Regions from separate parts of the Homo sapiens genome. Here region 1 is linked to region 2. The links are contacts of gene promoters, found by promoter capture Hi-C in blood cells and fetal thymus (Javierre and others, 2016). All regions are on one chromosome and are shown on one strand. The core of a region is centred on a gene start or on the middle of the fragment in contact, and the rest is flanking DNA. Distances in the headings are between cores, read along the strand shown. Region 1 overlaps WDR33 (WD repeat domain 33). Region 2 holds the start of WDR33 (WD repeat domain 33).

The links. The method cuts DNA at HindIII sites, captures the fragments that hold promoters and counts their contacts. A CHiCAGO score of 5 or more calls a contact.
Region 1: a contact is called between a fragment that was not itself captured here and the fragment with the promoter of WDR33 in region 2, in 2 of 17 cell types (naive CD4 T cells and total B cells). The highest score is 5.3, in naive CD4 T cells.

The regions. Positions count from the first base shown.
Region 1 is chr2:127,721,865-127,724,564 of GRCh38, forward strand. WDR33 (WD repeat domain 33) reads right to left here. Exons shown (of 22, transcript NM_018383.5): 11 at 2,469-2,579; 12 at 1,389-1,483; 13 at 1,094-1,180; 14 at 727-866; 15 at 1-124. Among named protein-coding and RNA genes, the nearest start is that of SFT2D3, 22 kb to the left of the region's middle. RefSeq lists an enhancer at 1-698. The HindIII fragment of the contact is 2,078 bases long and covers 363-2,440 here.
Region 2 is chr2:127,809,880-127,812,579 of GRCh38, forward strand. It overlaps WDR33 (WD repeat domain 33), which reads right to left and starts at 1,292. Exons shown (of 22, transcript NM_018383.5): 1 at 1,133-1,292. It overlaps LOC124907885 (a long non-coding RNA gene), which reads left to right and starts at 1,372. Exons shown (of 2, transcript XR_007087230.1): 1 at 1,372-2,264; 2 at 2,633-2,700. RefSeq lists enhancers at 1-274, 357-1,297, 704-783, 864-943, 964-1,253 and 1 more. The HindIII fragment of the contact is 7,008 bases long and covers 1-2,700 here.

The DNA of each region.
Region 1 (2,700 bases), core at 152-2,651, 88 kb before region 2:
ATGTAGCCATTTCTTGCTCAATTTCTGCTTGTGTTTTTTTCTTCTCTTCCAATTTAATGTCTTCTTTTCTGTCATTCAGCACCTCATTTGGAGCAGGAATTGGAACTTTATTTTGCATCCAAGCCTTGGGAAAGAAGAGAATATTAAAATGTACGCTAAGTATGAAAATTACAATGATAGAATGAGAAAACCACTCTACAATGTCATCTGCTCAATCTAACCTCTGAACCGATTTTATTTCTTTTTACCTTTTCTCCATGACTCAAGTACATGACTCATGCTAATTCTTACTGACATATTACTAGGTAGAAATTACTATGGTGATAAAAGCTGCAAGACACTGCATGTTATTAAGAATGCAAAGCTTGCCAGCCTCTTCACAGGGTACATGCACTTTGTGTTGAGGGGACAATTAAAGCACAAGATAGATAAACAATGGAGAAGAGAAGCAACATACTCCCATACTCCCTCTGCTCCATGCCTCTTTCTTCTATTTCCTCTCATAGCATGGATGATAATAAGCAGGTGAGGACAGAACAGAGAAGACTGATAACAAACTCAATACAACTGCAAAGCAGTAGATGAGAACCATGTCTAAGAGTACGTGAACATGGGAAAAATGCTCCAGTACAGAAACACCTTCAACAGTGAGATAATCCAAGAGAAACCTCAAACTAACCAACCAAAACCTCTCTGCGTGGATGAGGTGGAGTCACTTTTACTTACCTGCTGGAACTGAGCAGGAATGGGTTTTGCATAAGGAACTTTCTTCTGAGGTACTTTTTTCTGATCCTTTTGCATCACTTCCTCCATTCCCCAATCTAAACCTGGAATTGTCATTTCAATTTCATTTGATTCATCTTTCCCTGTAACCGTAAAGAAAAGTGGTTTGCCTCTTAAATAAAAGAAATTGGCCACTTGATCAATGAACACATTATTGGAAGAATAGATTTTAAGTATTATGTCATTTATATAATTTTTATCAACATTTCTCAACATAAATCATTTTGGTATTTCAATATATTTATCAGGAACATAAACGGGTCAAGAAAAAATTTGTAAAAATTAAATGTGTCTGTGTAACTTCTCTTACCCATCTGTTCTTGTTCCATAGCTAATTTTAGTTGTTCTGGTATTCCCATTCCTGGAATTACTGCCAGGCTATTAGGTTCGAGGTCATCTATAAATAGTAATACACCATTGTCAATAGAGAATTTACAAAAGTAGCGACTGATAAAATTAATGCTTTATAAAAATGAATGTCACTGATGATTTATAAATAAATCTACTATAAAATTAAAATTCATTTTGTATAATCTTCCCAACATCTAACACTTCTGTAATAGAATACCAGATTTCAAAGAAGGACAGATGTGCAAGAGTCTCACCATATTCTACTCCATCTTCAGACATTCCAGGTAAAAGGTTTAGATTATATCGATCTCGCATTTTATCACCTGGTCGGTTTCGAGTCCAGAATTTGCTGTAAAAATAATTAAAGGAGAAAAGAAGCATGGCTTCACTATTTTTTTGGGCACTAAACAGTACTAGGCAGACCCTTGGTAAACACAACACATTTTTACAATTTGTTTCTTCTACAAATTTAAAATGTGAGGTCATACACTTTGGCTCACATCTGTAATCCCAGCACTTTGGGAGGCTGTGGCAGGAGGATTAAGTCCAGGAGTCCAAGACCAGCCTGGGCAACATAGCGAAACCCTGTCTCTACAAAATAAAAATTAAAAAGTTAGCTGGGTGTGGTGGCACACACCTGTAGTCTCAGCTACTCACGAGGATAAGGCGGGAAGATGGCTTGAGCCCAGGAGTTTGAGGCTACAGTGAGCTGTGATCTCACCACAGAACTCTAGTCTCGGTGACAGAGTGAGACTCTGTCTCTTAAAATAATAATAAAAATAAAAATAAAATGTGGGGCCGGGCAAGGTGGCTCATGCCTGTAATCCCAGCACCTTGGGAGGCTGAGGCAGGAGGATTGCCTAAGCCCAGGAGTTTGACATCAGCCTGGGCAACATGGTGAAACCCCATCTCTACAAAAAATGCAAAAATTAGCCAGGTGTGGTGGTGTGCTCCTATAGTCTCAGCTACTCAGGAGGCTGAGGTAGGAGGATCACCTGAGCCCAGGAAGGTTGAGGCTATAGTGAGCTGAGACCGCACCATTGCACGCCAGCCTGGACAGAGACCCTGTCTCAAATAAATAAATAAATAAATAAATAAAAGTGGAAAACTTCTGTTTTAAGTCAGAAGGCAAAACAAAATTTGAATAGCCAAAACCATATTCAATACCCAATCTCTTTATTGCAATATAAGTATTTGTAAACCACTACAAAAATATTCCCAAGAATAAGTTGGAATATAAATTACTATATCAATCAACCAATAAAAATAAACACATACAGTATTTATTTCCTGTTGCTCCATATAAAGCTTTGCTATTTCAATATAAAGCTTACCTAGTATGGTCATTTGAGCCTGAGCAGAGAATATGCCCAAGAGGATGCCAAGCCAGACTCCAGATCATCCCTTCGTGAGCCATCTCCATCCCACCCACTTCCTTCTCTACCCTGCAACAGCACCAAAGAGAGAAGATTTGTTCACAAAAGTTACCCAGCTTCTCCCTCCCCCTCAAAAAAGACATTTTCTGTTACTCTTAAAATGAAGCTACCAAAGCCTGGACTTGGACTC
Region 2 (2,700 bases), core at 42-2,541:
CGGTCAAGGAGACAAAAAAAGCAAAAGTATCTTACAGTAATAAAAAATGGGTAAAATGCAATTAAGGCGAGGAAATGAAAAATGCCACAAGAGGTACAACTAGCATAACTGTCACTAAAAGGTTTGAATTAAGTAGGTTTACCACTGCACCATATTCACAGGCTATATATACATACACACACACATATATACACATATATATGTATATATAGCATGCATTAGCTCTCCAGAGTGTACTAAAAAAGTAAAGTCTACGCTCCCCAGAGTTGTTCCTTTCAGTGCAGGCTTTTTGTTCATATTCTAATGTCTTCCAAAGTTCCTGAACAGTCAACTTAAGATCATGTGTGTAGAAACTACTTTAAAACATTCTTGACAGGCTTTCTACAAGTAGCCCGTATTTTTCTGATTTGATTTAAATAGATCCAATTACGGAATTCCCTACCGACCTGCCGCCGCCGCCTCCTCCTTACTCCGGAAGGGGCCACTAATCCCAAGGGTTACAACCAAGTACAAACATTCATTGTCATTTCTTTTAAGAAGGCATGCTAAGATCCTCACTACTTAGTTGCCAGAAGACAACTTAAAATCAGAAACAGGGATCTAGCACAAACCAAATAGAAATACAACTATTCCAAAAAAGCAGGGCTTTGCCTGTCAAGCTGTAGCCTCATCCTTATAATAAGCACCGATTTCAAGCCACGATAACATCACGGCTAAGTCTTCAGCTGTTTTGCAGATTTCACGTTAACTTCCCTTGACCCTTTCAACCAACTACTTCAACTCGGCCCACTTCTTTCCACTCCCGCCCCAAACCTCAGTTAAAATGCATTTCCCTCCAAACTTCACGTCTTAACTGTGGCCTGACTTACGTCTTCTCGTCGCCACCGCTCCCAGTCAGGGCCTTAGTTCTAACCATGGCCGCTTTTCCCGGTTGGCCTCCAGCCTCCAGCCCCCTCCCATAAGTCTCGAACCTGCCTCGAACAGCCGCCCCGAGGTCGATTCTCCCAGTTCCTCCAACCTGTGCCCAGGCGCCCGTCCAGGCCCCCAAAGCACGCAACGGCCGAGCCCGAAAATGGCGGAGAGTGCCGCTGCCTGCTGCAGGCGAGCAGTCCCGTGTCGCCGCCGCACTCACCGTCTGGCTTTGAGCAGAGCTCCTAAATGGCCAGCGAAGCGTTCGCCTTCAGAGCCAGAAATGTCTCTCTTGTTTGGTCTCCCCACCCCGATCCTCTCAATCCCGCTCCTCCAAAGGAGCAGCCGCCATCTTCCCCTATGGGCCACCGAACGCACGCTCTGGGGTCATCACGCACTGGCGGGACGGCGCTACGTCACGCGCGCCTGGACCGCGGGCCTCTGTGAGGTTCGATCTGCGCATGTGCCTAGGTGAGGTGCCGAGCCGCGAGACCCTGCAGAGCGCTTCCTTTGTTCCGGAGCGAGTAGGACGCGCTACCTCCTGGAGGAAAGAAGCGACTGCGTTTCGCAGTGCTGACTTTTTTTTACAGTGTGAGCTAACGTGTATGCTCTGAAAAACACCCCGTTTTCCAGTATGTGAATGAGTATATTTGTACGGGGCCAGTACGGCAGACATAGCGGGTCGTTGGACCGAGCCCACCGAGAGTGGATCTGTGGGAAGCCACTGTGGCACCTTGCTGAGTCTGTTCACCCGTGCAGCTAGCTGGTGGCAGCCCTGGCAGATCCCGGCACACAGTCAGGCTCCACGCCTTACCCGAGCCAGTTGTGCCTCTAGATTACGCCTCGCTTAAAGTCCAGCGACCAAGATAGAAAAACAGCCCCACGATGCAACCATTTTGGAAAACCGCTGCAGTTTCTGCCAAAGCTAAATGTACGCTTACCTTGTGACCCCAGAAATTTCACTTCAAGAGGAATGAGTGCATACGTCCACCAAAGGCATGTGCAAGAATGTCCATAGCACGTTTATTCGTAGTAGTAAAAAACTGGTAACCTAAATGTCCATCAGCAGTTGAGTGGCTAAATTGTGGTGTATCATACAGTGGATTTCTACAGAGAAATAGGAAGTTACGGATAAACGCAACAGCCTGAACGAATAGCAGCTACTGTTAACTTAGGCACAAAGAAGAGGACGCTGTATGATTCCATTTTGATGAGGTTCAAAATATAACTGCACAGCAAGTTGTTCTCCAGTATGAATCAGGAATCGTACCAGCCTGGGGAACATGGCGAGATCCCATCTTTGCGCGTCGGGGTGCGTTCCTGTGACCGCCTTCCTGTGATCGTTCCTGTGATGGGTACTTGGGAGACTGGGGTGGGAGGATCACTTGAGCCCAGGAGTTGGAGGGCGCAGTGAGCCAAGATCGTGCCAGTGCACTTAAGTCTTGGAAGCAGAGTAAGACCCTGTCTCAAAGAAGTCTTACTTTTGACTCCATAATCCCCTTCCAAAAATCTATTCTAAGGATAGCCTCAGAGATGTGAGTAAGATTTGTGTACTAATCTTTGAGGTATTAATGATAGCAAAAAAAAAAGGAAACAGTAGCAGACAGTGATTAAATAATGGCACATCCATACGTAGACTATCATGCAGACATTACACAGTATCTAAAGTTTTTATGATAACATCAGAAATGTTTATAAACTTCTATATTTTTTCTTTTTTTAGAGACAAGGTCTCTCACCCAGGGTGATCATAACTCACTGCAGCCTCAACCTCCCGGGCTCAAGTGATCC